Regions from separate parts of the Homo sapiens genome. Here all the other regions are linked to region 1. Evidence: promoter capture Hi-C in human tissues and cell types (Jung and others, 2019). All regions are on one chromosome and are shown on one strand. Each heading gives the region's core, a stretch centred on a gene start or on the middle of the fragment in contact. The rest is flanking DNA. Distances are from core to core; before and after follow the strand shown. Region 1 holds the start of SNAI3 (snail family transcriptional repressor 3). Region 2 overlaps ACSF3 (acyl-CoA synthetase family member 3). Region 3 overlaps ACSF3 (acyl-CoA synthetase family member 3). Region 4 holds the start of ACSF3 (acyl-CoA synthetase family member 3). Region 5 has its middle 13 kb from the start of CBFA2T3. Region 6 overlaps CBFA2T3 (CBFA2/RUNX1 partner transcriptional co-repressor 3). Region 7 overlaps CBFA2T3 (CBFA2/RUNX1 partner transcriptional co-repressor 3).

Evidence for each region. The method cuts DNA at HindIII sites, captures the fragments that hold promoters and counts their contacts. A contact is called where the count stands out against the background at its distance.
Region 2: a contact is called between a fragment that was not itself captured here and the fragment with the promoter of SNAI3 in region 1, in 6 of the 25 tissues and cell types used here (H1 embryonic stem cells, bladder, dorsolateral prefrontal cortex and 3 more).
Region 3: a contact is called between a fragment that was not itself captured here and the fragment with the promoter of SNAI3 in region 1, in 1 of the 25 tissues and cell types used here (lymphoblastoid cells).
Region 4: the fragment with the promoter of ACSF3 here is called in contact with the fragment with the promoter of SNAI3 in region 1 in 1 of the 25 tissues and cell types used here (dorsolateral prefrontal cortex).
Region 5: a fragment that was not itself captured here is called in contact with the fragment with the promoter of SNAI3 in region 1 in 4 of the 25 tissues and cell types used here (lymphoblastoid cells, mesendoderm cells, ovary and 1 more).
Region 6: a fragment that was not itself captured here is called in contact with the fragment with the promoter of SNAI3 in region 1 in 2 of the 25 tissues and cell types used here (liver and spleen).
Region 7: a fragment that was not itself captured here is called in contact with the fragment with the promoter of SNAI3 in region 1 in 1 of the 25 tissues and cell types used here (spleen).

Annotation. Positions count from the first base shown.
Region 1 is chr16:88,684,666-88,689,071 of GRCh38, reverse strand. It overlaps SNAI3 (snail family transcriptional repressor 3), which reads left to right and starts at 2,565. Exons shown (of 3, transcript NM_178310.4): 1 at 2,565-2,741. The coding sequence starts at 2,666. It overlaps SNAI3-AS1 (SNAI3 antisense RNA 1), which reads right to left. Exons shown (of 4, transcript NR_024399.1): 4 at 1,886-2,281. RefSeq lists silencers at 2,285-2,744, 2,795-2,954. The HindIII fragment of the contact is 11,241 bases long and covers 1-4,406 here.
Region 2 is chr16:89,128,903-89,133,308 of GRCh38, reverse strand. It overlaps ACSF3 (acyl-CoA synthetase family member 3), which reads right to left. Exons shown (of 11, transcript NM_001243279.3): 8 at 47-173. Among named protein-coding and RNA genes, the nearest start is that of LINC00304, 28 kb to the left of the region's middle. The HindIII fragment of the contact is 8,026 bases long and covers 1-4,406 here.
Region 3 is chr16:89,110,583-89,114,988 of GRCh38, reverse strand. ACSF3 (acyl-CoA synthetase family member 3) reads right to left here. Exons shown (of 11, transcript NM_001243279.3): 5 at 2,743-2,897; 6 at 502-650. Among named protein-coding and RNA genes, the nearest start is that of ACSF3, 19 kb to the right of the region's middle. RefSeq lists a silencer at 134-428 and enhancers at 524-623, 1-1,022. The HindIII fragment of the contact is 3,569 bases long and covers 1,372-4,406 here.
Region 4 is chr16:89,091,525-89,095,930 of GRCh38, reverse strand. ACSF3 (acyl-CoA synthetase family member 3) reads right to left here and starts at 2,079. Exons shown (of 11, transcript NM_001243279.3): 1 at 1,935-2,079. RefSeq lists enhancers at 1-76, 1,296-1,485 and a silencer at 1,906-2,315. The HindIII fragment of the contact is 24,302 bases long and covers 1-4,406 here.
Region 5 is chr16:88,987,506-88,991,911 of GRCh38, reverse strand. No RefSeq gene overlaps it. Among named protein-coding and RNA genes, the nearest start is that of CBFA2T3, 13 kb to the right of the region's middle. RefSeq lists an enhancer at 1-923. The HindIII fragment of the contact is 5,289 bases long and covers 1-4,406 here.
Region 6 is chr16:88,968,942-88,973,347 of GRCh38, reverse strand. All of the region lies in intron 1 of CBFA2T3 (CBFA2/RUNX1 partner transcriptional co-repressor 3), which reads left to right. Among named protein-coding and RNA genes, the nearest start is that of CBFA2T3, 6.1 kb to the left of the region's middle. RefSeq lists enhancers at 1-117, 298-367, 1,448-1,587, 3,480-4,335. The HindIII fragment of the contact is 4,840 bases long and covers 142-4,406 here.
Region 7 is chr16:88,948,131-88,952,536 of GRCh38, reverse strand. The region is part of intron 1 of CBFA2T3 (CBFA2/RUNX1 partner transcriptional co-repressor 3); the gene reads left to right. It overlaps LOC100129697 (a long non-coding RNA gene), which reads right to left. Exons shown (of 2, transcript NR_168285.1): 2 at 1-2,280. Among named protein-coding and RNA genes, the nearest start is that of CBFA2T3, 27 kb to the left of the region's middle. The HindIII fragment of the contact is 6,684 bases long and covers 1-4,406 here.

The sequences.
Region 1 (4,406 bases), core at 1,316-3,815:
TTAAAACAAACAACAGTCAATGGTGACAGAGATGTCTACCGTGTTGGATACCTGTGTGCACATCTCCAGACACTATGGTTACAGTCACTGTAAAACCAGAAAGGCAGGAAGACATACGTGTAGGAAGGATGAAAATGTCAACATAAATGGAACTCTAACCGTTTTTGCCCTGACCGGCAATTCTTGGGGTGGGCTACCCACTGGAAAACCGCTCTTGGGTGTCGGATGGAGGCAGATGGGAGGGGCCAGGCTGCCGGGCCCAGCACAAGTCATCATCCTGATGTCCTAGATGTCCAGGGAAGGGGGCAAGGACCTGGGTCGCCTGCTGCAGTTCAGGAGGGCGGGTCTAGCAGGCTGTGGGCCGTGGGTTTCCCCACTCAGGGGCACGTCAGTTTAACCCCCAGAGCCAAGCTGCCGGCAGTGAGGAACGGAAGACACGGAAAGGATGGAGACGGCCGCCCTCCCCCAATCCCCACCCCCGAGGCTGCACCTGTGGGAAGGGGGACGCTGATGTTTCCCTCTGTGGGGCCTTCTTGGGTCCAGCCTGGACACCGCCCTGTGCATCACAGCTGAAGAGTGAGTCTGCAGCCGACTTGAGTGTCCCTGGGGGGCAAGTTGTTGCGGCAGCCCTGGGACCCCACCCCAAAGGTGCTCGCAGGCCCTCTAGGGCGTTCCCGGGATGAGATCAGCCATTCTCCTCGGGAGGGCTACAGCAGCCCTGAGTAACACCAGGCTCTAGCTGGGATTAGGAGATAAGCTTGCTGGGGCTTGGCGGGTGGCCACACAACGGGTAGGTGGGCGGGGAGGGACGGTGTGGGTGGAGGCTTGGCTCAGGTATCTGCAAGCGTTATCTGTGTCTGCGAGGGAGAGAGAGAAGGAAGGGAGGCTATAAATAGAAACCTTTCCAGGCGAGGAACAGGTGAATAAGCAGAAGGCAGGCATGTGTCCTCTGAAATCTACACTCCCGGCGTGGTGGTGCCAGGCCATGCTTGCAGGAGAGGCGGGCACCTTCTTCCAGGGGCACCTCCACCTGTCCTTCCACTCCCCCTCACCAAGTGGCAGACAAGCTGGAGTGTGGCTGGGTCCCAATCCCACTGTGTCCTAACCTCTCACAGCCTTGGTCTTCTTTTTTGTTTTTTTTTAATTTTTTGAGACAGGGTCTTGCTCTGTTGTCCAGACTGGAGTGCAGTGGGGTCATCATAGCTCACAGCAGCCTCCACCTCCTGGAGGCTACTGCAACAAGCAATCCTCCCTCCTCAGCGTCCTGAGTAGCTGGGACTGAAGATGGGTGTTGCCACGCCTGGCTAATTAAAATAATTTTTTTTTTTTTTTTTGTAGAGACGGGGTCTCATGTTGTTTTTCAGGCTGGTCTCAAACTCCTGGGCTCAAGCAGTCCTCTTGTCTCAGCCTCCCACAGTGCTGGGATTACAGGCGTGAGCTGCTGAGCCCAGACTCACAGCCTAGTTTTTTTTCATTGGCAAAGTGGGGCTGATACTAGCCCAGCTTTTCACACCCTGGACGTGTGATGTGGGACGTGGGATGCTGGTGTGGCACGGCCCTCCTCCCTGCTGTCTGTCCCTCAGAGCTTCCATGGACTCACCACCCCCCACCTTCTCCACCCCCGGCCCACAGGGGGCAAAGGCCACCCAGCTCTGAGGTGGAAGCCCTGCTGGGGAGGCAGGCCGGCGGCACAGCCAGGGACACCCTGTGTGCACGCCAGCCCAGAGACGGCCCCACCTGGCCCCCAACGTTATGAAATGTCCATGTCAAAAGAGACCCAGACACTGGACACAGCGGCTCCCAGCTTTTTATGACCCTGAGGGCTCTACAGGACCACAAAGGAGGGAAACGGATTGCCCAGGTCACACGTGCAGCTGTTGCAGAATTCACGTGATTCACCGGTTTTATTAAACTTCCCATAACCATGTCTGACCCCCTGGGAATTCCAGAATTCCAGGCCAAGTCCTCCGTCCCCCAAAAAACAGCTTTCTGGAGGCACTGGACAAACTCCTAAAGGGCTGACTCCAGTGGGGGAAGCCTTCGGAGACTGCAGCCCATCCAGAAAGGACCACTGTCTCCAGGCCACCGGTCCCGGGCCTGTTCCAGAGCCGCCAGTAGGGCTGGTCACTAGGGTCAGCTTCGTTTCGCCTGGGCTCTCCCCATCAATCCTGTCCTGTGAGTTTGCAGAAGGGATGGGGAGGCGAGGCCAGGCCGCAGAGTGAGCGTCATTCTCCGCAGCAAGGGTTCTCCAAGGACCGCGCTCGGCCGACGCTTCCACATTCTGTGGAAGAGATTCTCGCTCGGTTTCCACACAGCTTTGAACTCTGCCCTTCACTCACGGCGAGTGGGTGGCCAGGCCCGACGGGTCGGTGTGTGACTCGGCGGCGCGCACGCCAGAGAATTCCCGTGGGGAGGACACCGGCGGCCACGCGCTCCCCGCCCCGTCCCGCCCGCGCACCTGTCCTGGGCGTGTTGCCCGAGACCCCGCCTCGCCCTCAGTTCCGCCCCCGTGGCCCCGCCCCACTCGCGCCGGGCGCTGGTTGGCGGAGGCGGCGCGCTATGCTAATGAGCCTGACCCCTTCAAGCGCCGGCGGACGCAGCAGTCCGGACCCAGGCGCGCCCCTCCCGCCCCAGCCCACCCCGGCCTGCCGCCCGGGAGGGGAACATGCCGCGCTCCTTCCTGGTGAAAACGCACTCCAGCCACAGGGTCCCCAACTACCGGCGGCTGGAGACGCAGAGAGGTACTGACTACCCGATCCCCGAGCCCCTGCCGGGACTCGACCCTGAGGGGCGGGAGAGAGAGAGAGGCCCCTGGGAGCGGGGGCTGGGGAGACACCTGTCCCAGGTGGGAGGAGAAGGAGCCAGCGCCTCTGCGCAGCGGCTGCGGCTGCAGGGAGGGAGGTGGCCCACGGGCGCCTCCACTTCAGGGCACTGAGCCCCGCCTCCGGCAGGGCGGGCGGGATTCTCTCCCAACTTGGAGAAGTTTTCTAAGTTTTCTAAGCCCCCAAGTCTCCCTGGAACTCACCCCTGATATACAGCCGCCCGTCCCAACCACTACAGCCCCAGCTAAAGGCACCCTGGAGTCATCTTCCTGGCGCACACGTTTGGGAGGGGTCGCGGGGTGGTGGGTGGGAGGGAAGGAGGGCCGTCTGGGGCGGCCCGGCTCAGGGACCCCCGGAGCATGCTGACTGGGGGTGTAAGCACAGGGGATGGTGAGAAGGACACATGGGCTCTTTCTGGTGCAAAGGCACTGCCCCTCCTGCATTCAGTTCAGGTGAGCCTCCGCCCGTGGTCTCCCTCCCTCCCCCACCTCCCTTCACCCCAGAAGCCCTCCTGCTCACCCCGGCAGGCTTGCCTGGGCAGGCTGGGCTAAAGGGCTGCAATCCTCCACACACCGGCTAGGCTGGGGAGATGGGTGCCCAGCAACCGGGCTGCCCGTTCATTCCCACTGCCTGCTAGGCTTAGGGACACGAGAGAAGAGGACTCTGTCCTTCAGAGGACAGCCTGCCACACGGGCGGTGAGAGCAGTCCCCACCTGGCTTGGCAGCTTCTTGGGACAAAGGCCCACTGAGGGGCGCCGGCGGACGCGGTGGTCGGGACTCACGCTCTGTGGCCGGTGGGGGAGAGCAGGAAGGGCGCTGTTGGGGCTGTGGCCCCCAGCAACACCGCCAAGAGGCCTTTATCCCAGCTCAGAACCCAGAGTTGGGGATGGGGGGGATCCCACCTGGACCCACACCCGAGGCCCGGGCTGCCACCAGGGGGTGCCAGCTAGGACCATGCTTTTCAAATGTGCATTTTGAAATCAGTTTCATCAGTCACCCCCAGCAATTTTGTAAAATAAAATAGAGCAGAAACTGCCGGAGTGCCTGGCTCATGGTGAAGGACACTGGCTTCTGTTATGTGTATGTGGATGCGCATGTGACTACACATGTGTGCGGAATTTACATGGGTAATAGTTGCAAGTTTCAAAGTGTTGCTTAGGGTCCATCCCAGTGTGCAAATCTGGGTAGCTGTGCTGGGCCCAGTGGGCAACTGTCGTGAGTAGCCGTGCTGCCCCGCAGTGCTCTCTGCTCCCCGCCCCCGCTCCCCTCCTCACTGTAGCCCCAGCTGCCTGGCTTTCTGACAGCCAGGGGGCCCTGGCAACTTTCTGCCAAGATGTTACCCCAGGATAGACCTGAGGTGCTGGGATTTGGGGCCCCTCAATCTCTCCTTTTAAATAAATGGCTCCTATGGCTCCCCAGGGAACCCCTGAAGCCAGCAAGGTACTTAAACAGTCTCTTCAGCTGGGTGTGGCGGCTCATGCCTGTAATCTCAGCACTTTGGGAGGTCGAGGACGGCAGATCACTTGAGGTCAGGAGTTCGAAACCAGCCAACATGGCGAAACCCCGTCCCTACTAAAAATACAG
Region 2 (4,406 bases), core at 1,033-3,532, 440 kb before region 1:
CCTGTCCCCTCGGGGTCTCCTCCACTCCCATGGGGCTGGGTCCTACCTGTCTTAAACCAGCCATCCAGGGTGAATGCACTCTTAGTTTCTTCTGGTTTATTCCAGTATTCTCGAAACACGGAGGGTCCCCTCACCAGCAGCTCCCCCTCCTTTTCTTCAAACCCTGGGGTCACCTGTGGAGGATGAAGAACATGGAGGTCAGAGCTGGGCACACCCTCTTGGGATTGGTGCTTTCTGAAACTGTGGGCTGCTCCCTGCCCACCCAGGGCCCACCCAGGGCCGCGTGCTTTCTGAAACTGAGCGCTTTGTTGGAATGCTTGGAAAACGCAGCTTTGACAGGTGGAAGCCAACCATGCTGAGCTAAGCATTCCCGCCGTCCTCTGTGGGCCCTGGTGCCCTGGCCGGGAGCTGGGTGTCCTTTCATTCCTCCCAGAACAGCCACAGAAGAACGTGCTCCTACCCCATCCTCTAGACTTGAGCATGTTACCGGCCCAGGCCTCAGCACTCAGAGCCTGGGCTGGATTCAGGCAGCCTGTCCACGTCTAAAACCTGTGCCCAAATCCCATCTTCGGGGGCGTTTCTCAAACCAGGGAACACAGCAGCGGGCACCTGTCCACACCTTGCCCACAGGGGCTGGGGCAGCTTGGAGCGGGCAGCGCCCTCCACAGGGCTGAGTGACCAATTACAAGAGGGAAGACTCCGTGGGAAGGGAAGGTGGGGCCTGAGGGTGGAGGGTCCCTGGAGGCCCCTGTTAAGCATGCAGGCACTGCCATGGCCCCAGGAAACACAGCCTCACTGTTCTTCTATTGTGACCATGGAGAGGGCGGGAGGGAGGCTGGGTTATATGAGCCTGGGCTGGGGGTCCCTGCAGCACCAGGAACAGATGGCACGGGAGGCCCTGGACACGGTGGGTCTGTGAAGACACCGGCCGAGCCCTCGGCTCATAGGTCAGGAGGGTCTGGGGAGGGCAGAGAAGGAGCAGGGGCTTCAGATGAGCAGCTGCCAGCTCCACGACCCTCACTCTTCTCTACTGTGAAAGTGACTGGCTGTGACCCCGGAGGTCAAGGGATGCGTACAAGAGTCTCACTGAGGCTCATCACCTGCCATCTGGAATGGACTTCAGAAAACCAGGGGCCAGGGAAGTAGCTGCGAAATAGCAGAACACACTGATCTGATGTGGAGAAAGGGCGCTCAAACGCCGTGGGGCCAACACTGCCCCATGGCAGCCTCTGCCGAGTGTGTCGTCCTGCTGCCAACCCGCCAGCCTGGGCTCCTCCAGGAGGGGCTGACGCCACCCACGGGGGTGAAACACCTGCCCCACATGATGACGGGGCTGCCAACCCGCCAGCCTGGGCTCCTCCAGGAGGGGCTGACGCCACCCACGGGGGTGAAACACCTGCCCCACATGGTGACGGGGCTTTCCGTGCAGTGCCCAGCCTAACTCCTGGCTGCTCAGAGCCTTGTGTTTGTTTTTTCAAAGAAACCACGGACTTTATCTGAATTTCGTGAATTTTTCCACTGCTGTCCTTTATCTGCTCCACTGACGTGGTCAGACTGGCCACTGGTCAGTACACTTGTGGGACATGTAGAGACAGCAAGGCAAAGGCCCTACAAATAAAATGACAATGAGACCAATCCCAGGGAAGGAGGGTCAGACTTTGTAGAGTTAAGCCAACCAAGTCACAGTAAAACAAACACCTCAACATCTTCACAGAATGTCAACAAGACCAAGAATCTCATCCCTAACATTAAAAATATCCAGGGTACAATACAAAGTTACTCAACACGGGAAAAAACCAGAAAAATAGCAACTCATATAGAAAAAGAATACAACAGCACTGAGACAACACAGTTATTGGAATTATCTGAGAAAGACTTTAAAGCACTATTATAAAAATGCTCCAAAAAGTAAGGGCACACTTTGGGAGGCTGAGGCGGGCAGACTGCTTGAGCTCGGGTGTTTGAGAACAGCCTGGGCAACATGGCAAAACCCTGTCTCTACAAAAAAGATAAAAACTAGCCAGGTGTGGTGGTCAGTGCTTGTAGTCCCAGCTACTTGGGAGGCTGAGGTAGGAGGATCGCTTGAGGTGGAGATTGCAGTGAACCAAGACTGCAGCCCTGCACTTCAGCCTAGGTGACGGAGTGAGACCCTGTCTCAAAAAAAAAAAAAAAAAAAAAAAAGAAAAAGAAAAAGAAAAAGAAAGAAAGGGCAAACACTTGGAAATAAATGGAAAAACAGAAAGTCTCAACAAAGAAATAACAGATATAAAGCAGAACCAAACAATAATTTAAAAACTGAAAAATACAGAAATAAAGAATCTCATGGATTGGTTCAGGAGCAGGACGATGAAGAAACGAACGTGACAACTTGAAGACAGAGCAACAGAAATGACCCAAAATCTGAACAGCAGAGAAAAATCACCAGGAAAGTCAACACACAGAGGGCTAACGTTCATGCTACTGGAGTGACAGAAGAAAAGATAACACTTAGGTGCACAAAGTCGTTTGATAAAATTTGGCTAAAAACCCAAAATTTGGTGAAAACATAAGCCTATAAACTAAAGAAGCTGAGAGAATCCCAAACAGGACAAACCAAAAGATGTCCAAGCCCAGACACATCATAATCCAATCACTGACACACAGAGAGGAACAAGGGTTCCTGCGCCCACTGATTTCTCCACGGAAACAATGGAGGCCGGAAAGAAGTGGAGTTATATTATTAGTAGTATTTTTTTGAGACAGACTCTCATTCTGTCACCCAGGCTGGAGTGCAATGGCATGATCTCGGCTTACTGCAACCTCCACCTCCCAGGTTAAAACAATCCTCCAGCCTCAGCCTCCCAAGTAGCTGGGATTACAGGTGTGTGCCACCATGCCTGGCTAATTTTTGTATTTTTAGTAGAGACAGGGTTTCCCCATGTTGGCCAGGCTGGTCTCAAATTCTTGACCTCAGGTGATCCACTCCCACCTTGGCCTCCCAAAGTGCTGGGACTATAGGCATGAGCTGCCACATCCAGCCAAGAATCATATTTTTAAAGTGCTGAAAGAAAATAGTTGTCAACCCAGAATTCCTAATCCAATGAAAATATCCTTCAGGAAGGAAGATAAAGACATTCTTAGATGAGGAAAAATAAGGTAATTTGTTGCAAGCAGATCTGATCTAAAAGAATTCCTATAGAATGTCCTTCAGACAGAAAGAAACTGGTATCAGAAGGAGACTTGGTATATTGGGAATACAGGAAAAGCAACAGAAGTGGCAAATATTTGGATGAATGAAGTTGAGTTCCTTTCTTCTCAAGTTCTCTGAAATATTTTTGACTGTTGAAAGCAAAAATTACCATTTTGTCTAACGGAGTTTACAACAAATACAGGTATTACACTGACTACACTCTAAAGGCAGAGGGTAAGTAACCGATGTGGAGGCAGGGATGTGGCTCTACATTCTTCTGGAAGTGTTAAAATGTTGACTTTAAGTAGACTGTAAAAAAGGAAGTATGTATATTGTAGTTTCTGGAACTACTACTAAAAAAACTATGCAAAGACATTTATGGTCAAAAACTTAAGAGACAAATTAAAATGGAATATGAAAAAATAACCTCAAAGAAGGCAGTAAAGTTGAGCAATAAAACTCTCAGGGAACAATAGTAAACACATAGTAAAATGGTAGGCTTAAATTCAAGCACATCAATAATTACATTAAATGTAAATGGTCTAAACATACCAATTACAAAGCTTGTCAGGCTGGATTTAAAAAACACACATAATCCAACTGTATGCTGTGTATAAGAAACTTGCTTCAAATACAATTACACAGGTAGGTTGGAAGTAAAGGGATAGAACAATAAATACCATGCAAACTCCAACCGAGAAATTAAAATAGCTATAATAATATCAAAGTAAACTTAAGAGCAAAGAGCATTACCAGAGCATTAAATGTTAATAAGAGTCAATTCACCAATAAGACACAATCATTATAAATGTGAATGTACCAAACAACAGACTTTCAAAATATATGAAGCAAAAACTGAAAGCAGAAACAGGCAGTTATAGTTGGAAAATTCAACCCCTCACTTAGTAACAGAACAAGTGGTGAGAAAACCAGCAAGGATATAGAAGAACTGAACAACACGATCAAACACCTTCATCTAATTTACAGAACAGACATTTCCTAAAACGAGCAGGACACACACTCTTGCTCTGTCAGGCTGGAGTGCGGTGGCATCATCACAGCTCACTGCAGCCTCAAACTCCCAGATTCAGGCGATCTTCCCGCCTCGGCCTCCTGTGTAGCTGGGACCAAAGGCATGTAACACCATGCCCAGCTATTTTTTTTTTTCCAACTTTTTGTAGAGATGGGGTCTCACTATGTTGCTCAGGCTGGGCTCAAACTCCTGGGCAGTGATTCT
Region 3 (4,406 bases), core at 1,907-4,406, 430 kb before region 1:
CAAGAGGGGCCCGGTATCAGGAGCCCACATCTAGAGAAGGAAGACAGGTGCTTGACTCATCCCACCCTGCCCACCACACCCACCTCTCCTGGCACTGCTGCTGGCGCTGTGTGGCACCCGGACTCCAGACAGACGGAGGCTGCCACCACTGCTGATGTGGTCTGGAGCCAACAGCATGGCCCCCCGCCTTCCTCTGAGACATGCACTGACGCCTGCATTCCAGGCATTGCTGTTCTTCCCATTGTCTCCCCAGTCATACAGCCAGGGGCCAGCACAGACACCTCCCCCATCCACCCGACTGAGACTTGGGAGAAGGCTGATCTACCCAGAGGGGACAGGTCGCAGTGCATCCTGAGTGCTCTCCTGGCCGAGTGGCCTGTCCCACGGGGGAGCATCCTCCATGCCGCCCTTCAGTCCGAATGTGGGTGGTTCGAGACTGGCCCACCTTGGGGGGCTCAGAGCACAGTGGAAGAGGAACGCAGCTGTGGGAAGTGCTCGTACCTGGCAGGCGCACGGCAGTGGTCAGGGGCCCGGACAGAGCCATGCCGATCTCGGTCATGCCATACCGCTCCAGCAGGGTGTGGCCCGTGATGTTCTTCCACTTCTCCAGCACTGGGAGGGGCAGGGCAGCTGAGCCTGAGACCATCAGCCTACGCGGCACAACCAAAGGCAGGTTTAGCCCCTTGGGACGTGGCTCTCGCGTGCAAAGGTGGCAGGTTTAGCCCCTCAGGAGGCGGCCCTTGCTTGCAAAAGTGGCAGCTCCTTCACGAGTGCAGGAGCCCCAGGCCGTGGGTACAGCACCACTGTGCGACACCCGGGACCAACGCTGCAGTCTGCGCTACGGCGTGACTTTGTTTTTTGAAAACGATCTGTTGGGTGTATTTTAGAAGGAAGCAGGTCCAACAGCTAATGAGGGTAAACAATGTGCTTAGGGTCCGCGGTGTCCCCTGCAAAGTTCCTGCGCTGTTCACAACCACGCTCAAGAACAGCAGTGACCGTGCAGCTGCCGACCACGGAGCTGATCACGGGTGAACAGCCACGGCGCTGCAGGCTGCGGCCAGGCACATCCGGGGACTACAGCCGGCTCAGCTTGCAGGCTCTGCAGCAGAACGCGGACATGGGTGAATGGCCGCGGCACCCAAGGGGTGGGGCCGGGCACACCCAAGGGGCTCAGAACCACCCGCAGAACTGCAGCCATCTTGGCCCACAGGGTCAGCTCAGGCTTGGCAGGAGAACACGGGCCCTGAGAACTCCGAGTCCCCGCGCTCTCACACAGCATTTCCCGCAGCCTCACGGGCAGTAGGGAAGGCGCTTTTGTTTGCGGTCTGAGCGGAGTGGTCCCTGCTGCTGCCCCTGCTTTACGAGGAGGCACCACTGACAGGACCCCCGCTGGGAGATCCAGATGGCCGAGGTCTCATTGCCTCTGTCACCCCAGAAATCACCTGATCCTCTCCTTCACTGACCTCGTTCTTGCCCTTGGTTCCTTAGATTTGGTAAAACGTTGTGCTCACCCTGCTCAGCTTGGGGCCTGCCCAGCCCCAGGGTATCCCAGCAGTAGCAGCAGCAAAACCATGGGCTCCGGTGGCCTCACAGAAAAGGGGCAAGGGAACGGCAAAGAGAGCGAAGCGGTTCAGACATGTGCCTTGGACAACCCGGAATTCTCTCCAGGAACAAAGGTGCCGCTTCCCTGTGCACTTCCTGGGGACTGGGAGGAGCGCGCGGCAGCCACAGACACACACATCCCACTGGAAACTGGATGGCAGTGGAGCCTTCAGTTCCTGCAGTGCACCCTCCACGCCACCCCTCCCTCTCACAAAAAGAAAAAATACCCCACCCACGACTCTGCTGGAGGTGCGGGCCTGTGATGCGTGTGAAGACTCACTGAGCCACACGTGTGCGTTTCCAGTTAGTGAACCACACCTCAACAGCCACGAGGGAAAAGAAACGTTCCCACGCCTGCAGGTTCATGGGAGAGTGCAGAGCAAACACGCCCCTGGGTGGCCCAAAAGACCAGCTTGTCCTGGGAGGGAGGGGTTTATCCAGGGAGCTGGGAGGGGAGGAGCGGGGCTGAGAGGAAAAGCAGCAGAACGTGCCCCAGGCAGGAGGCCTCACAGGGCTGCCCACGAAGGCAGAGAGACTGCATAGGAGAGGCAGGCGCCGTGGGACATGTGGGCAGATGAAGCAGGAGCAAGCGGGTCAGCTCACTGTCCTCACCCTTGTCCTTCAGACGCCATGACAGAGAGAGAGAGAGACGGACAGGAGAGAGAGCAGACAGACAGACGGAGACAAAGACAGATGGAGAGATAGAGACAGATGGAGAGACAGGAGAGATAGAGAAAGAGAAGACGGAGAGACAGATGAAGAGCGATGGAGAGAGACAGAGAGAAGACAGAGATGGAGAGTCTGACAAGAGAGACAGAGAAGACAGATAGATGGAGAGATGGAGAGAGAGAGACAAAGAGAGACAGAGAGAGATAGAGAGACAGAGTGTGACAGAGAGAGCGATACAGAATCCAGGCAGCTATCGACGTGGAAGAGATTACAGATATACATACAGACGGGTAGAGAGAGAGAGAGACAGTTAGAGAGGTAGAGACGGAGACGGGTAGAGAGAGAGGGAACATTGAAAGGAAATGGAAAGCACTGCTTCCCAGAACTTAGTAGGAGTGATTTATTAGAAATAAGTCGTATCTGTTGATCTTTAAGACTTTCTGAACGAGAAAGTGGGCTCTTTTCACTTACCTAATTTTTTCTTCACAAACTGCACGCAAGAAATCCTGGGCGTGCGGCTGGGTAAAATGCCTGTCGTAGTACTCCATCAGCTTGGTGTATATTGTAGGCACTGCCATAAAGACATTGATCCGCGGCGTTTCAGAACTTAAGAACTTTTCCCAAACCTACGAAGGAAAGGAAGCACTCGGTAGGAAGATGAGCAGGCACTGGGGCCCGTGGCGGAGGCTCCTGGCTCCAGGCACAGCGTTCTCATGGTTCACATTCAAGAGTCTGCAGCGCCTCCCTTCTAAAAGGGGTGCCTCAAACTCTGACCCCTTCCCACAGAAGCCATGTTGCGCGGGACAGCTGCGTCTGGCCTGTGAGGGGAAGAGCAATCGTGAACAGAGCTAGAAAAGGGCTTCGGGATCTGTGGCCTGGAGAGACGTGAGTGGTCAGGCTCTTCCAGCTACACAGAGAGGGCGGATGTACACCTTGGGGAAGCTGGCAGGAGGGCCTGGCTGCCCGCAGACCTGAAGTCAGCATGCTTCCCAGTATGGACAGGCATGCAGTGACTAGCGAACGGGTGAAGTCTTTTATTTAAAAGAGTCATGTGAATTTTATATTTTACTCCATAATAAACATTTCTTGCTTACATATAAATACGTTTTAAGTTCCTCACTCGTTAGCGGGTTCTCGCGTCGCCCATAAAGCTTCAGGAAGAGCTGGTGAGCCGCATTCCTTCCATGGCCCTCTCTACCCGCGGTGTTCCACACGGAGCACCGAAGGGTGTGGCGGAGGGAGGAGGGCACTCTTCGTGCTGTGGGGTCAGCACCTAAGGGAGGCCCAGGACACACAGGACAGATCTCGCCCACACGGCGTTGAAACTGGGGTCGACGGATGCCGATGCCACAGTCCAGCCCCAGCCCATCTCATCTCCTCACTGGACTGCAGTGACGAGTGCCTCACCGCAGCTGCCTGGCAGAGAAAGGCAGGAATCTCCGGGGAAGAAATAATATCATTCTTTCAAAGACAAAGACTGGAACCCTTCAAAGTCACAAAGCATGTAAGGACACAAAGATGTGATCCCCAACTGAAGGGAAGAAGTCTCAGGAAATCCAAACGTCCGAATCACCAGACAAGGCCCTTCAAATCACTGCAATAAGCAGATTAAGGAATTTCAAAGAAAAGATGAACAACGTGGGGAAGATGGAGAATTGCAAAGAGAAGTGGAACTGCAAAAAATCATAAAACTGAAAAACACAAGATCCAAAATGAATTCATTCAATAGACCTAATAACAAACAAGACGCAGCAGAAAAGAGGAAAAAAGTCAGACACAGTCAACGGGGGTGATCTAGGCTGACCCACAGACGGGAAAGCAAAGACACAGGCGACCAGAGTGCGGGAGACAGCAGCACCGCGGAGCAGCACCCACAACACTGCCATCGAGGGAGGGAGGGGAACAGATAAGCGGGTGGAGAGAGGCCAGGCTCGCAGACGGGAACACTCCATGTTGTGAAGATGGCAGTTCTTCCCACACTGAGCTCCAGCTTCAAAGCAATCTTCCCAAAATTCCGGCAAGCTTTATTTTGCAGAAATTGATACACTTATCCTACGTTTTACACGAAAAGGCAAAGGACCCAGAAGATCCAAAATAAATTTCAAAAGGCAGATTAAAGGTGAGAACACACAGTT
Region 4 (4,406 bases), core at 830-3,329, 410 kb before region 1:
TGGCAGAGTTAGTCACCACAGGCTTCGACTTGAACGGCTGCTGCCTTTGTCCTCATTTCCTCACTGGCCTAGCCCTTCACTTCCCACCGCTAAGATGGCACAGTAACAAGACCTGCCTCACAGGCTTCACGTGAGAATGTACGAATGGCCCGGCACAGGCCAGGCAGAAGACAAACGGCCGCGCCGTGCTCAGCAGGGTGCTCCCCATGGAGCCTCGCAACAAAAATTACTAGATGAGAATGACACTCGCATTCAAATGAAGGGCTGCTTTCAACATGAATAAAACGACACCTGACCTGTTCACCACCACACCTGACACCCCCGCCCCCCCAGACCTTGTGTTTGAAGTGGATGCCGGCACTTCCTCCTGTCGGCTGCCCCGATGAGAGCGTGGGGCAGAGGAGGGCTGTGCTCGGCCTGCGGGGCAGGATGCGTTTCAGCATCACACCTGTGGTTTGGAGGGTTATTTTCAAAATTACATTTTTAAGTAACAGACATTCACATTGCATTCATGAGCAGTACATTCAAATAAAAAAAACCAAAAAGGAAAAATACACTTGAAACCCATATCCATTTTAGGAAGAAAAATACTATTTTAAAAATGCCATCTGGAAAGGTGACACTTACAACTATCCCAAGCCCACAGTTTAATCCGCCATTTCTGTCTGCCTTGAGGAGATGGTTCAGAGCCAAAGGAGCAAGAGCAAGGGAAGCCTCATCTTATGTCCTCCAACACCTGCGGAGAGGACACCAGCCTGAGCCAGGCTTCACGCTACAAAGCTCGCAGGGTCCCCAGGGTCCACCGGTAGTAACACCCGTGCTCCTGGGTCCACCATGTGAACCCCCTCCTCAACAAGGTCTCAGCCTTGGGCCCTAACACGAATGTCTGTCCTCCCAGGATGGGAAAGCAACAACTATGCCCCAGACACAATTCGTGTTCCTATCTCTAAACGTGTTCCCTTTCTAGCAAATTCCTAATCATTCTTCCAAGCCCAGTTCAAATATCACCTCTTCTTTTTCAGTTTTATTATTTATTGAGACAGTGTCTTGCTCTGCCACCTAGGCTGGAGTGCAATGGTGCTGTCATGGCTCACTGCAGCCTCCGATTCCTGGGCTCAAGAAATCCTCGTGCCTCAGCCTAACCAGTAGCTGGAAGTGCAGGTGTACGCCACCACACCCAGCTAATTTTTACATTTTTTTGTAGAGATAGGGGTCTCACCATGTTGCCCAGGCTGGCTTTGAACTCCTGGCCACAAGTGATCCTCCTGCCTCTGCTGCCCAAAGCGCTGGGATTACAGGCATGAGCCACTGCACCTGGCCTGCCTGGTGGAATTTAGACTCAGGACAGCAACATCAACTCCTGACTGCACCGGGCCTCACCCCTTTAAACCTTCCCTCTCTCCAGGGAATGGGCTGCCTGCAGTACCTTCCAAATACTTCACGGCCGGCCGCACGTCTCCATTGCTTGCTCATAGATCTACATGCCCTCAGGGGCTAGGCCGGCTGTGAACCTGTGCCCCACGCGCCCAGCAAGGTGCACGCAGCAAACAACTAAAACGGGGAGTACTTCAAGGGTGACTTCTGAAGCCCAATGAGAAATGGAAGTGAATTTATTCCAAACACAACCAAAGACGATTCGTTCTGAGGATGCCTGAACACGGACCCCGCCGGCTCGACGGTATCACCGGGCCCGGCGTCCGCACAGCTTCTCTCCCCGCACCCCGCGCGGGGGCCCCGCTCCCCACCGGACACGAGAGGCTCGGCGTCCCGGGAAGGCCGACGCCCGGCCCCAGGCGGCTCGCGGGGAAGCGACCGCGCCACGGGCCACGGCTCAAGCCCAGCTGCGACCCAGGGGCGGGCGCCGGAGCCCGCGCCCCCGAGAGCTCTGCGCCCGGCCGACCCCGCCGCGGTCCCGTGGGCCCCGCCGCCCGCACCTACGAGACGGCCGCGGCCACGGGGCAGGATCTGCCTCGCCACAACTCTTCCTCGTCCTCCGCCGCGCGCGCGCCGGGGTCGGGCCGGGTTCCGGCCGGGTCCCGCGGGGTCGTGAGTCGGGCCGGACCAGTTCCGGCGCCCAACAGCTTCCCCGGCGCGGCGCGTCCGTCGCCCAAGCGCGTCCCCCCGGCGCGGCGCCGTGGCGGCGGGTTCCGGGCGCGCGTGTTCCCCTGTCCCGCCCGTCCCGTCGTGGCGGGGTCGGGGCCGCGGGCGTCTCGTGAGCCGTGGCCGAGGCAAGGCGCCGTGGTCTCCGCTAGCCCAGGGCTGCCCAGATCAGAACGGCGCGCGGGACCACTCCCAACGCGGATTGCTGGGCCTCGCCCCGTCCTCCCAAAAGGGGCTCTCTGGGCTTTGCGGCTGGGGGTCTGCACGCTGAGCTCCTGGGTGATTTTATTATTATTATTATTGTTGTTACTTTTTCTTATTATTATTATTATTTTGAGATGGAGTCTCGCTCTGTCGCCCAGACTAGAGTGCAGTGGTGTGATCTCGGCTCACCGCAACCTCCGCCTCCCGGGTTCAAGTGATTCTCCTGCCTCAACCTCCCAATTAGCTGGGACTACAGGCGCCCGCCATCATGCCTGTCTAATTTTTGTATTTCTTGGGTGATTTTAAACGGACCGCATTTGAGAATCTCTCCTCGAAGGGACTTGGGAACCAGGATACGAATATGAAGCGAGACTGTTGGATGGACAGTGGCGGAAAACATTTAAAGCCAAACACAAAGTCCAGTTGGCTGAAATTTGAGGGTTTTTCCCCTAAAATGAATACTAATAACACAAAGACATGTACTGGCAAACAGTAGTACAAATTATCTGCAGAACCGTCCTGGTGTGATGGCTCACGCCTGTAATCCCAGCACTTTGGGAGGCCGAGGTAGGCAGATCACGAGGTCAGGAGTTCAAGACCAGCCTGACCAACATGGTGAAACCCTGTCTCTCCTAAAAATACAAAAATTAGCCGGGAGTGGTGGCAGGTGCCTGTAATCCCAGTTACTCGGGAGGCTGAGGCAGGAGAATCTCTTGAGCCTGGGAGGTGGCGACTGCAGTGAGCTGAGATTGCGCCACTGCACTCCAGCCTGGGCAGCAGAGTGAGACTGTCTCAAAAAAAAAAAAAAATTATCTGCAGAACCTTGCACAGTTTTTTTGTAAGTGTATTATTTTCCATGCCCATCTTCCTCTCTTGTGATGATTGCTGGGGCAGCAGTTGTGTCCTTGGAAAGCTCAGGAAAGGGCACTTCAGGAGCCCGAGGATGGTTTTCCTGGGAGGAAGGAGCTGGATCTGGGGGAAGTTTGTAACACAGAGCGTGGGAGAACAAACCCAAACTTCTAGTGCCTCTGGTTGCCACCCTGCTAGGTATCATGCAGAAAAAGCAAGTCCAACCCTCTGCCACTGGGACAGGCTTGATCTGGTGTCAGAATTCTGTCTGCTTCCAGGACTCAGCAGGCTGAATGGTGTTTCCGACGAGGGCAGTAGGAAGAGTAAGGAGGGCGTCTAACATCAGGATTCAGCCCCAGGACGTGTGTGCGCAAATTTCTATCCCTGGGAAGTTGAAGAGCTCAGGCTGCGTCACCCACCTAGAGACAGGACTTGGGACAGGGTGACAGCTCCCGTGGTCCTTGGCCATGGCTCTGTGAGGGTGGCAGTGGGGGGAGGGTGCAGTCTCCGAGAAATGGCCCAGTCATCCTATGAGCAGGGGTCCCATCTGTGCCTCGGCTCTGGTCAGCATCATAGTGGCAGGTGGGAAGCAGGAGCAGTCAGGGATTAGCAGACATTGGAGGACAGCCTCTAGCCAGAGAGACGTGGGCTGAAACAACCAGCAGAACAACTGCAGGCAGCCAGGCTGTGCAGAGTGAAGAGACCCCCAAAACCACCCCCTGTTAATACCCTCAGGGAGACAAGGGAAGCGACAGCCCCCATGAGTCCAGAGCGAGATGCCCCGAGAAAGAGCGTTCCAGTAACATAAAGGGGGGCTGGAGGGGTCAGAATACAACAGCCTGAGTAAAAACCCTAAGGGAAGGGCTAAAGGACGTCTCCTAGAAATAGAACAGAAAGACCGAGAGATGAAAAACAGGAGAGGAAAGATAAAAAAATCAGTGGGCTCAGGCAGGCATCCAATATGCTAAATACGGTAGTTTCAGGAAGGGAGGGCAGAGAAAACAGAGAGAAGTCAGCTGTCAGGTAAACTCGTGGACATTAGCAGACGAAGGGCTGCAGAACATCCAGCGCAGGGAGTGAAAGTGGCCGCACCAACCAGGCAGACGACGTCAATGTAGTTTAGAACATGTGGACAGGGAGGGTCCTAAGTGCCCACCTGGCATCTCACTGGGACATCCAAGAGACATCAGACCCCGATGTGGCCCCAGAGGAGCTCAGGTCTCCCCCGCAGCAGCGCCCCCACCCTCACACTT
Region 5 (4,406 bases), core at 1,158-3,657, 300 kb before region 1:
AGGGGCACTGTTCATTCGTTCCTTCTACAAACACGTACAAAGCACCTACTGTGTGCCTGGTACGAGTCTAGGCACTGGGGACACAAAAGAAACACAGCCCCCAGCCTTGTGTTCAGGTAAACAGGGGTATTTGTGGAGGAAAGGGTTCCTAAGGGGACCAGGGCTGCTGCATTTTATTTATTTATTTTTTGAGACAGAGTCTTACTCTGTCGCCCAGGCTGGAGTGCAGTGACACGATCTCAGCTCACTGCAACCTCCGCTTCCCAGGTTCAAGTGATTCGCTTGCCTCAGCCTCCCGAGGAGCTGGGATTACAGTCATGTGCCACCAGGCCCAGCTAATTTTTGTGTCTTTAGTAGCAATAGGGTTTCACCATGTTAGCCAGGCTGGTCTTAAACACCTGACCTCAGATGATCTGTCCGCCTCGGCCTCCCAAAGTGCTGGGATTACAAGCGTGAGCCCTACCTTGCCCAGTCGCTGCTGCATTTTAAAGCAAAAATTGAGATTTTCAGGGCAAATGTAGAAGTGAGCCTCTTCCGGACTCCTCGGAACAGCCAGGCAAGGGGCACCATGAGTCGGCTGCAGCCCTCAGGCGGGTACAGCTGAGGGTCCCCATCATAGTGAGGGGACACAGGGCTCCCAGCCAGCCACCATCCCCATCCCTCGAAGCTAGGCAGGGGAGAGAGGCAGCCCCAGGTGGAGGGAAAGTGGGAAGGATCCACACAGCTCCCCAAGGAGCCTCCTCGGAGAAGAGGTACACGTGGGGTTCCACCTGGGAAGAGGAGGGCTCCTCCGCTCTGCAGGCGTGAATTTGCTCCAGGCCTCCGTTGCAAGAAGCTCTCCTACTTTGGGTCTAACAGAGCTGCCTGAGGCCCTCCCCAGGACAAGCCCCCTCATCACCAGTCTAAGCCTGCTGTCCACACCTGGGGTGGTGCTGTCCTGTCACCCCATCCTGAGCCCCAGAGCACAGGTACTGTCACTGAGGCACACACTCAGGTGCCAAATCCGCTCCCCAACACAGCACACAGCCTCCCGCCGACTAGAGCTGGGCCCAGCAGTGTTCCGGCCCCACTCAGCCTGGAGGAAGCTCTGCTCTTCCTTCCATGGCCACGGCTAACTCTGTTCCCTCTGAGCCCTTGCCTTTATCCCCCCGAAAGGCAGGGACCCCACAGAACTTTCCCAGCTCCCTGGCAGCCAGACACGGCTGTGAGACCCGGCTTAGCCAGTCAGCTGAAAGGGGAGAACTGCATGAGGTTTCTGGAAGAGATTTTCCTCCCTGGCTCTTTCTCTTCCTTCCCTGAACGCAGTGGTCAGAAGCTGTGACTCTTGGAGCTGCAGCACCCATCTGGGAACCATGAGGCAACAGGTCGGACAACAGCAGGCCGGGCAGAGGCCACGACAAGCCGGATGACAGCAGGCCGGGCAGAGGCCACGACAGGCCGGATGACAGCGGGCCTGGCAGAGGCCACGACAAGGCATGAGAGGGAGCGGGCCAGGGTCCCTGATGACGTCACTGACTGACACACCCAGTCCAGAACCTCAGGACGGGCCCCACGCAGGCCTGTGTTTTTCCATTTGAAGCTGGAGAGGGCCCAGCAGCACCCCCGTGGAGCCCCCCACAGTGCCCCGTCTGCCGCTGCTGCACTGGGCCACCCCCCAGGGCCTCACAGCCCAAATCACCCACTACCATGACTGAGGACGGGTGACTGGAGCTGGGGGTGGTGGGTTGTGAGGGAGGGGCTTCCGTATGGAACCACCGGGAAGCCCCAGCTGTGGAGAGGGCACAGGAGGGCAGCTCGCTCAGGGCTGTGAGGGCTGAACCTGATGTAGCCTTCAGCTGATGGGACATGGGGAGCCAGTGCTTGTTCTAGAGGGGAGGCATCCCTTGCGTCCAGGACAGATCCCAGCTCTGCTCCCATCTCCCAGGGTGCCAGGGGTCTCTCAGGGTCTCTGGAAGGAGCCGCCGTGGGCTGGGAGAGAAGAGCCAGGAATTCCGAGTCTTCTGTGTGGCCAGAGGGTCCCCTGCCAAGATGACCCTGTGAGCCGCCGTCTGGTTTACCATGCAGGGCCGCAGGTGAGCACCTGGCTCTTCCCCAACCAGGGATAGGGCCAAGAGTGGGAAGAGGGAAGTTACCAGATGCTGCCAAGGCTGCAGATGCACACACCCATCGGGCTGGCGCCAGGCCCAAGCCCCTCAGATGCCCTCAAGGCCTCCTCAGGGCCAGGGCAGCTGGCACGGTCTCGCCCCACCTGACAGATGGCAGGGCGGGCAGCAGCCAGCGAGGGGCCGGCAGGACTCAAGTCCGACCCCCGCAGACACCCCTGGGGGCCCCACCAGGCAGCGCCCCCGCTCGAAGGCAGTACAGGCGGGAGAGGGGCCATATGGCCCCGGCTCCCAGCTCCCACGGAGGCCGCATCTCCCAGCTGCTCTGTGCTGAAAACATTTACATCCAAATACGTCCCAGCGCGCCGTGTTTTTGCCTCAAGCCAGCCTGGGAGTCTGTCGTCGCCACCTGGGAGGCCCCGGTGCCCAGATTAGGGAAGGCCTTGCCTTCCAGGGACCCCACGACTGAATCCGCAGTGGCTCCGAGATGCTGGCCGGGGCTGGGGGCAGGAGGAGCTTTGCACGTGCGGCTGGTCCTGCGGGGAGCGTGCCTCCCAGAGCTTGACCCACGCCTGGGCCATGCGGGCTGCCCCGAGTTGCCTCTCCCCTTGAGGCCCTCCCCGCCCTGCAGTCATGCCGCACGCCTCACCCCTCCCACCGCACGGCTTTGCTCCCCTGTCTCATGGTCTGCTTTGCTGTCTGTCCCTGGTGGTGAGGTCAGACCCCCAGCCTCGTACAGGGACCAGCAGCCAGCTCCCAGCGGGCCCGCAGGACACGTGTGTGCCATGCACGAGACACTGAGTGGGTGGGAAGGGGATTGCTGGGAGCCAGGAGCTCCCGTTGCCCTGCGTGGAGCCGAGTGGGTGGGAAGGAGACTGCTGGGAGCTCCCGTCGTGGAGTGGGACCATCACCCAGTGCTGACCCCTGGCTTCCCATCTGCAATATGGGACCGGAGGATAAGAGCGGGTTTGCGCCCCTGTGGCCCTGCACGCAAAGGCCCATAGCCCAGGGCTTGAAACCACAGAAACACGTTCTCGCATCTCTGGGGTCCACAGTCTGAATCAAGGTGTCGGCAGGGCCACCCCCTCTGAAGGCTCCAGGAGGAACCTTGTGATGGGGTCAATTCTGCCCCACAGATTCCCATGTGGAAGTCCGGATGGGACCTCAGAATGGGACTGTATTTGGAATCAGGGCCTTTAAATAGATAATTAAGTTAAACAGAGGCCATCAGAGTGGAGCCCTAACCCAGTCCAACAGGTGTCCTTATAAGAGGAGGAAGCTTGGACTTACAGCCGGGTGCGGTGGTTCAAGCCTGTGATCCCAGCACTGTGGGAGGCAGAGGCGGGTGGATCACCTGAGGTCAGGAGTTTGAGACCAGCCTGGCCAACATAGTGAAACCCCATCTCTACTTAAAATACAAAAATTAGCCAGGTGTGGTGGTGTGTGCCTGTAATTCCAGCTACTCGGGAGGCTGAGGCACAAGAATCACTTGAACCCGGGAGGCAGAGGTTGCAGTGAGCCGAGATCGCGTCATCACACTCCAGCCTGAGTGACAGAGCAAGACTCCATCAAAGAAAAAGAAAGAAAGAAAGAAAGAGAGAGAGAGAGGAAGGAAGGAAGAAAGAAAGAGAGAGAGAGAAAAAGAAGGAAGGAAGGAAAGAAAGAGAGAGAGGAAGGAAGGAAGGAAGGAAGAGAGAGAGAAAGAAAGAAGGAAGGAAGGAAAGAAAGAAAGAAAGAAAGAAAGAAAGAAAGAAAGAAAGAAAGAAAGAAAGAAAGAAAGAAAGAAAGGGAAGGAAGGAAAAGAAAAGAGAAAACAAAAGTTGGACTTACAGAGCCGCCAAGGGTGCGTGCACGTGGACAAGGCCACGCACGGAGGCAGCTGTCAGCAAAGACAAGGACACAGGCCTGGAAGAAGCCAAGCTCATCAACAACTTGGTCTCGACCTCCAGCCTCCAGAACTGTGCGAAAGCTGGTTTCTGCCACCAAAGCCCCTGTGCGTGGTGTATTGTTCTGGCCGCCCTGCCTCTTTCTTCATGTATTAATTCAGGATTTGCTGAGTGTCCATTTGCCGTGTGCTGTTTGGACTCTGGGGCTACAGCAGGAAATGCAGCTGACAGCATCTTACACGATGCACCTCTTTGTATTTACCCAGACGAGTTGGAAACTTGTGTTCACACAAAAACCTGCACAACGGTGTTAAAGCAGCTTATTCACAATTGCCGATGCTGAGACATGGAAGCTACCAAGATGCCCTTCAGTGAGTGAAAGGAAATGAGCTCCCAGGCCCTGAAAAGACACGAAGGG
Region 6 (4,406 bases), core at 1,312-3,811, 280 kb before region 1:
TGGGCTGTGGCCGCCGTGCCGCAGCCACTACCTCTGTCTTTGCAAGGCCGTCTCCTCCCTCCCAAATCTTCCTCTGCCTCCTTCTTCTAAGGCCCAGCCCACCCTAGGCCAGAGCTCCAGCCACTCACTCTGCACTCCAGGCGGTGGGACACAGGGAGGCACTGGAGAGGCTGCAGGCAGCCCCGGTTATGGGAGGTGCCCCATCAAGGGGGCGCGGTGGGAGGGGGAGTGGACATGAGCAGCCGGGCGGTCTCAGCCCGACTCCTCCTTCAGCCGCAGGCCCTGTGTCTGCTGGGCTTTGGAGCTGGTGGATCATGCAGAGCTCGGCCAGGGTGTCTGTGGGCTCCAGCCAGAGGCAGGGAGGTCAGTGTGTGCATGACAAGACGTCTGAGGCCACAGACAGACAGACAGGCAGCCCCAAGGGTGCCTGCAAAGGGGCCGGATGGTAGCTGTCAGACCTGTGTCTGTGAGCAAAGTGCCATCACAGCCATCATCCCAAGGTCCCCAGCACCCTCAGACCTCACCTCCCGCCTCCTGTCCCCCCTTTTGTTGACCACATGGTGTTGGGGGGCTCCATGTCGGGGAGCCAGCCTGGGAGTGCTGCTGTTACTGCTATCACAGAAGAAGAGACTGAGGTTCTGAGAGGCACACAGCAGGCTCTGCTGACCCTGTGGGGCAGAGGCAGATGGGCTGGAGATGTGAGGATCTTGCTGCTGTGAAATCAGACTGACCGTGGAGTCCAGCCCCAGGCTCGGAGGGAAGCTTGCCCTGGAATCCCTCCTGGGTCAGTCATGGCAGAAAGCCAGCAGCATCGCAAGGGGACAGGGCTGCCAGTGCATGGACAGCTCCATGAGGGAGGATTTACGAAGGTCAGACAGAGGCGGCAGAGTGCAGAGCTCTGGGGCCAGAGGGTGAAGAGGAATGGATGAGCTAGTAATAGAGAGAGGGGCATCCACAGAGGCAGGAAGTCCTCAGGAGAGTGGACGGTGGGACAAAGCCTGACTCCCCCCCAACTATCTCCCCACCGGAGGCTCCACTGGCACAGAGCAGGGAGCAGGGGCTCTGGGCACGTCCTCACTGCCAGGTGCAGCCAGCTTTCCAGGTCCCATAAGTGCACCTCCCTCCCTCCCTCCCCAGTAAGCGTGGCACTGCTTCCCTGAGGCCTCAGTGGCTGCTGGAATGCTCCGCTCCTTCCCCATACCAGCCCATCCCCACACACAAGGACAGCAACCAGCCATGTCCTCCTGTCCAGCAGAAAGACCTTGAATCAGCACCTAGGAAGACAGGGGCGGTGCCTAGGGTCAGGGTGCAATCCGGGCCAGCTTCCTGGAGGAAGTGGCCCCATGGGGGCGGCTCTAGGAGGCCACTCTTTAGGCGAAGACAACTTTCACTTCTCACCACATGTGGACCGAGAAGCAGTGCGTCCCGTTAACCTGCCTGGGCGCTGGGCAGGGGTTTTCCGGCACTTTCACTTCCGTGACTGCAGTTGACCGGGGAGGCGCAGGCAGGAAGAGCGGCCTCAGGGAGAGGCCGATTGGTCACAGCTGAGCCAGGACTCGCCGGCCAGTGCTCCTCCGAGGAGACGTCGGCCAGGGGCAGCTGGAGAGAAGCAGGGAAAAGAGAGGCCTGTCTGAGGGCCGCCCACCCACCCTTTGAAGGAACTCCAGCTGGGAGCTGTGGACTGGGTCACTCAGGTCGACTGTTACAAAGCCAGAGGCCGGCCTGCAGCAGGCGCCAATGAAGTTCTCAGCACAAAACCCCCAAGTCCACCCCCAGGACGGCCGCTCCCAGGCCTGTCGGGCAGTTGCCCAGGACACAGGTCCACAGCGGGGACCCCACCGAGGGGCTTCCTCTCCCAGCTCTGCCCACCCCAGGCCCCAGGCAGCTCTCTCAGGTGGGCAGAGAGTGGCTGGGTCACCATGTCATTTGAAAAATCAAGGCCAGGTGCCGTGACTCATGCCTGTAATCCTAGCACTTTGGGAGGCCGAGGCAGGCGGATCACTTGAGGCCAGGATTCCGAGACCAGTCTGGCCAACATGGCAAAACCCTGCCTCTAGTAAATATACAAAAATTAGCTGAGTGTGGTAGTGGGTGCTTGTAATCCCAGCTACTCGGGAGGCTGAGGCGGGAGAATCGTGTGAACCCAGGAGGCAGAGGTTGCAGTGAGCCAAGATTGCGCCCCTGCACTCCAGCCTGGATGACAGAGGGAGACCGTGTCTTTAAAAAAAAAGGAAAATTGAGTTGATGAAAACACGTCAGCCACATCACACCTGCGCACACCCACGGCCCAGCCCTCCCGGCCCGACCCCACCGCGTCGGCCTCCGGCACTCACAGCCCCGGCTGCCTGGCGGCTCCACAAGCCTCCCGAGCCCGTGCCTGTGCTATGCCCTCGCCGAGGAGCCCCCTCCCGACCGACCTCCTTCCCTCGGTGTTCCTCTCCTTCAATCTGTCACCCCATGAGAAAAACCAGCTGCCCCCTTACGTACTACTCATCCCCCGGCCCCCAGCGTCGGCTGCACGAGACAGGGGCTCTGGTGCCTGCTTGCAGCAGGGCCCTCAGCAGACGGTGCTGGCCCAGGAGGGTGCTGAGCCCTGGAAGGCGTGAGTCTATTCCATCTCCAGGCGAGGCGAGGCCTCCGTGCTCCTGGTCCTTCAGTTGTTACTTGGCTGTGTGCATCCTGCTGGTGCTGAGGCAGGGACTGGCTCCACAGTTTTCCCAGGAACTCAGGCCCTGTGGCCCCGGAGGGAAGGGGCAGACGGCAATCCCTTCCCGGCTTTCACCCGGCAACACTTCAAGGGCATCGCTGACCTCAGATGAGGACACAAATCAGAAAGGTCAGGAAACCAGCCGAGCTCACACAGCGGGGCTGGGGTGGGCCACGTCCTCCCAGGCTGTGCATCTCTGCCAGGGACCCTCCCAGAGGCAAGGCAGCTGAGGTCGCATCTCAGGAGAGGGACCCCACTGCACGCCCTGCTCTGAGACGAGAGCCGCGCCCTCAGCTGAGCCCCTCCGAACCCACCTCTCCGTCTCCTTGCTTCACCTGAGGAAGCCCCACGCAGGTGCTGCCTGACACCCGCGTCGCCGACCCCTGGATCAAGCACATCCTGACACCCAGCTGATCACACAGCAAGGCTGCCGGCTTGGGGCCGCCGCCACCGCCTCCTGGAGTGAAATCCTCTCTCGGCCCAGGACAGCTGCAGAGCAGCCGTTTCACTGGCAGCTTTTGGAGAGTGGGCCAACCCCTCCCCCAGGCCTGCCTCCCACTGACGTGAATTTCCATCAGCTTTTCCAGGCGCCCCCTTTGTGGAGACGAGGACTCCTGGGGTGAGGGCCCCAAGTGTGGCTTTCTCCCTGGGAGGAGTGGGGCCAGAAGGCATGCCCTCCTGAGAAGACATGGCAGAAGCCTCCAACAGCCACAGCTTCTGGGGCTCATTTTGGGAGGCCCCTGTGGAGGGGGATGGGGTGAACCCACAGCCTTGCAGAAGATCGGGGGCTCTGCCAAATCGCAACCCCCCAGGCCATGCTCACCCTAACTGGACCGGGTCCACGGTGCCCTCTAGTAGGGCCCACCGGGAGCCCCAGCACCTGCCCCCCGGCACCTGCCACTCGCACCCTGGCAGCCAAGCCTGGCCTGCTGCCCTGAGCCTGCAAGATGCAGCCCCACGGGCGGTGCTGAGGTCTGTGCGTCGTCAGGCCGGCCCCGCCCCCCTCTCCCTCGGCTCCCTGGTCTGTGAGGGGCAGTGGCTGGACCCGACCATGGTGGGAATGGAAACTGCTGTCCACCGGCCACGCTGACCCCAGCCTGTCTCCTGTTTGTAAAACGGGGTGGCGGCGAGCCCCTCCTGAAGGCTGGGGTGGGATTTGGTGAGGAAAGACCCTCTTCCTGGCACTCCTTCCCAAGGGGCCCCGCTCTTGCGACCCCCGCAGCTGGCCCTGCAGACACCAGGCCTCCCACCCCTGCCAAGGCCAGGAGGCACCAGCCGGGAGGGAGCCCAGTAGAGAAGGAACTGGAGAATTCACCCCACCCTGTGGGCTCCCGGAGCTTCCTCCTGAGCTCCCAAGTCCAGGTGTGTTTTGAGTGTCTAGAAAGTCCCGACTTCACAGACCTGAGGGGGACAGAGTGGGGGAGGGGACCTTGCAACCGTCCCTCCAGCCGTGTCCGCTGCAGCCCCTCACTCCAGATGGCGGTGACCCCGGCGGCATCCGGGCCAGGCTGCAGCCGAATCCCAGAGCCGGTGGAGCCAGCCTGACCCAGCCGACTGCTCACGAGAGGATGGGGGATTCCTCAAAACGGGGGCACCAGGCCGCACACTGGGGCTGGGTCTGCTGAGGGCTTGCTCTGGCTGGGCTCCCAGATTTAGAGAGCAGATCTTAGGCTCCTGGCCCCCGATTTGTGTGAGGCCT
Region 7 (4,406 bases), core at 1,125-3,624, 260 kb before region 1:
GTGGCAGGGCCGCATTTGTCTTGCTGAAAGCCGTCTCGGTGCCCCGTGGGAGAAGGACTGGAGGGCGGCAACTCCCTCACCCCATGGCCTGGGCATTTGTCCTGCTGAAAGCCATTTTGGTGCCCCGCGGGAGAAGGATTGGAGGGCGGCAGCTCCCTCACCCTGTGGCCTGGGCATTTGTCTTGCTGAAAGCCGTCTCAGTGCCCCACGGGAGAAGGACTGGAGGGAGGCAGCTCCCTCACCCCGTGGCCTGGCACAGCCTCCCCGGGTGTCCTGGCTCCAGCAATGATAGACGGCTTTGTCAGTGCCGGGATGCATGCGGTTTGGAGATTGTCCACCCTGGGGCCTGGCCAGGTATCTGGCTGATAAAAATTAGTCTCTCTGTCTCTGCATAGTAGCGAGCCTGTTCCCATCACTCGGGCTGTCAGCACTCAGGTGCCCAGAGCAGCTTCCGGCTTAGATCTCACAGGCTCCTGGGGCTGCTGGGGCCGGGGAGACCCAAACCCACCTCTGCACAGGGGTCCTGGGCCAAGGGTCTGTGCCAGAATGCTGCAGCTGCGAGTGACAGAAACCCAGCTCGGAGGCGTCAGGGACACCTGGGACTGTGCTGGCTCAAGCACCAAACTATAGGATGGGCAGGGGCACCGGTTTCAGGCCCCACAGACCCAACCATTAGCACACCCTCCGCCGCTCTGCCCACCTTCTCTTCCCAGCGGCTGTCCAGGCCACTCTGGGCTTGCCTCCCACGCAGATCAAAGAAGAGGTCCTTCCTCTCTTGTTCCAGTTCAAAAACTCCCAGGGAAGGATTGTGATTGGCCGCGTGTGGTCACCTGCCCTCCTCCTGGACCAATCGCTGGGGCCGCGGCTGCCTGCATGACTGTCCTGCTAGCCCTGTGCCCACCCTGGGGCCGTGGCAGCAGGTCTGTGACCCGAGCTGGAGCTGAGAAGCCACAGACCCGAGGGGAGGGAATGGCAGCAACCCGGTCGCCACCCTGATTTTGTACTGCAGGTGCAATTTTAAAACTGATTTTTTAATTTAAAAAAGCAAAGATGAAACAAAAATACTTATAGGAAAATTCAAACATACAGGTAACAGAAAAGAAGGTGAAAATAAAATAAGACGCAGCTAATGATACCTCTCAAAGAATTGTATGATAAGGAAATGAGAACATGCAGTCACTCAACAAACAAAGGGAGGGATGGAGACCCAGAAGACAGGTGCCAACACTCGACCCTCTGTGCTGGTGCCAGTCCAGGGGACGGGTGAACAGACCCGGAAGACAGGTGCCAACACTCTGACCCTCTGTGCCGGTGCCGGTCCAGGGGACGGGTGAACAGATCCGGAAGACAGGTGCCAACACTCTGACCCTCTGTGCCGGTGCCGATCCAGGGGAGGGGTGAACAGATCCGGAAGACAGGTGCCAACACTCTGACCCTCTGTGGCGGTGCCGGTCCAGGGGAGGGGTGAACAGATCCGGAAGACAGGTGCCAACACTCTGACCCTCTGTGCCGGTGCCGGTCCAGGCGAGGGGTGAACAGATCCGGAAGACAGGTGCCAACACTCTGACCCTCTGTGGCGGTGCCGGTCCAGGGGACGGGTGAACAGATCCGGAAGACAGGTGCCAACACTCTGACCCTCTGTGCCGGTGCCGATCCAGGGGAGGGGTGAACAGATCCGGAAGACAGGTGCCAACACTCTGACCCTCTGTGGCGGTGCCGGTCCAGGGGACGGGTGAACAGATCCGGAAGACAGGTGCCAACACTCTGACCCTCTGTGGCGGTGCCGGTCCAGGGGACGGGTGAACAGATCCGGAAGACAGGTGCCAACACTCTGACCCTCTGTGGCGGTGCCGGTCCAGGGGACGGGTGAACAGATCCGGAAGACAGGTGCCAACACTCTGACCCTCTGTGGCGGTGCCGGTCCAGGGGACGGGTGAACAGATCCGGAAGACAGGTGCCAACACTCCTGACCCTCTGTGGCGGTGCCGGTCCAGGGGACGGGTGAACTGACCCGGAAGACAGGTGCCAACACTCCTGACCCTCTGTGGCGGTGCCGGTCCGGGGGAGGGGTGAACAGATCCGGAAGACAGGTGCCAACACTCTGACCCTCTGTGCCGGTGCCGGTCCAGGGGACGGGTGAACTGACCCGGAAGACAGGTGCCAACACTCTGACCCTCTGTGGCGGTGCCGGTCCAGGGGACGGGTGAACTGACCCGGAAGACAGGTGCCAACACTCTGACCCTCTGTGGCGGTGCCGGTCCAGGGGACGGGTGAACAGACCTGGAAGACAGGTGCCAACACTCTGACCCTCTGTGGCGGTGCCGGTCCAGGGGAGGGGTGAACAGACCGATGTGGTTCCTGCCCTGGAGAACAGGGAAACGCAGAACAAGCAGAGACAGATCCAGATAAAGAGAGGTGAAGAGAGACGGGAGAGGAGGAGAGGGGGCCAGTCATGAGGAAGAGAAGCAGGGAAGCCGTGTGACTTCGAGAGTGGCGGGGGTTTTCGTTCCTTCGTTTTCTTTTCTTTTTTTTCAGACAGAATCTCTGTCACCCACGCTGGAGTGCAGTGGCACCATTTTGGCTCATTGCAACTCTGCCTCCCGGGTTCAAGTGATTCTCCTGCCTCAGCCTCCCCAATAGCTGGGATTACAGGCACCCACCACCACGCCCAGCTAATTTTTGTGTTTTAGTAGAGACGGGGTTTCGCCATGTCGGCCAGGCTGGTCTTGAACTCCTGACCCTAAGTGGTCTGCCTGCCTCGGCCTCCCAAAGTGCTGGGATTACAGGCGTGAGCTACTGTGTCTGGTCCCTTTTGTTTTCTTCTTGTGGGATTTGCCTACTCATGAAGTTTGTTGAGCGTTATTTTGAGTGCTTGTATTGTTCTTCTCTGTAGCAATGTTTGTGTGCTGGGGCCACTGTCGTTTGTCCCCACACCCACTCCCAGCCCATCTTCTTTCTTTTTCTTTTTTTTTTTTTTGAGACAGAGTCTCGCTCTGTCACCCGGGCTGGAGTGCAGGTGACTCGATTTCAGCTCACTGCAACCTCCGCCTCCCGGGTTCAAGTGATTCTCCTGCTTCAGCCTCCCGAATAGCTGGGACTACAGGCACACACCATCACACCTGGCTAATTTTTGTATTTTTGGTGGAGATAGGGTTTCGCCATGTTGGCCAGGCTGGTTTTGAACTGCTGACCTCAAGTGATCTGCCCTCCTCGGCCTCCCGAAGTGCTGGGATTACAGGTGTGAGGCGCCGCGCCCGGCCTCCCAACCCATCTCTTATCGGGGTCCCCTGTCTCTTTCAGGACATGGAAGTTGCTCATGCCTACACGGCCAAACCCCTCCAGCTTCTTAAAATTTTTTCAGAGTTTCTCGGCTGCCTTAATTTTAAACTGGTATTATATAAATTGCTCTGCTTTTTTCTCCTAATCCTTTCACTGTTCCAGTTTTTCACATTTTATTCTTTAACCCAAGTGGAGTTTATTTTTCCAAGTGAAGTAAGGAGTATATAATTCATTTTCCCCACATGGGGCAGTTGTCCTGACACCATCTACTGGGGAGTTTGTGCTTCTCCAGGGATTTTAAATGCCACCTCAATCCCATCCACATTCCCTTTTACACACGAGCACCGGCTGCTTTTCCTACGGGACACTTCCGATTTCCAACTGTTTGTGCTTGGCCTGGTTCTCGTGTGAACTTCAACAAAGACAAGAGAGAACTCTGAACTTGTCTTTGAGCCACATTGCAAATGTGTAGGCCAGCCAGCTCTTAGCCCCGTTTTACAGGAAAAACTGAGGTTTGGCAAGCTTCAGTAACTTGCTTTCTATTGGATATGGAGAGTGAAGGAAGAAAGAAATGAATACGTGAATGAAGCCACTTCACAATTAGGAACCTCATTCTGCAAAAGCAGCGATGCCGATGTGAGTCAGGGGAGAAAGCCAAGAGACACTCCTGAGGCAGGGAAGCCTCCTGTCCGGAGCCCGGACTCCCTCTGCTTTAGGGTTCCTCCCTGCCTCCGGGAGGGTCTCCTTGACCTTGTGGGCAACTTGAAGCCGCGTCATCTGGTGCCCACACCAGACGGCCCAGGCTGACGGCCAAGGCAGAACCTGCTTGGGCCAGTGTGGGTCCTTTTCCCAGCTACCCCTGCACAGTCACCCTCTCCCAGTTCCCCAAGAAAGACCAACGTCTCTCTGCCTGGGGCCAGCCTGGTGCCTTGCCCCCAGCTCCCCACTCGCCACGAATGTGTCTCTGCTGCAACCTGCTGATTTCTTGTCTTTGCATGAAACAGAATTGAGGGGGGACAGAACCGATTTGTCAGCTGATAGTTATTAAAAATGACTTTGATGACCAATCACCACGTGGCTTGCGGCATCTGACTCTCAGAAGGAGGTCACAGTGAGATGGTTAGGAC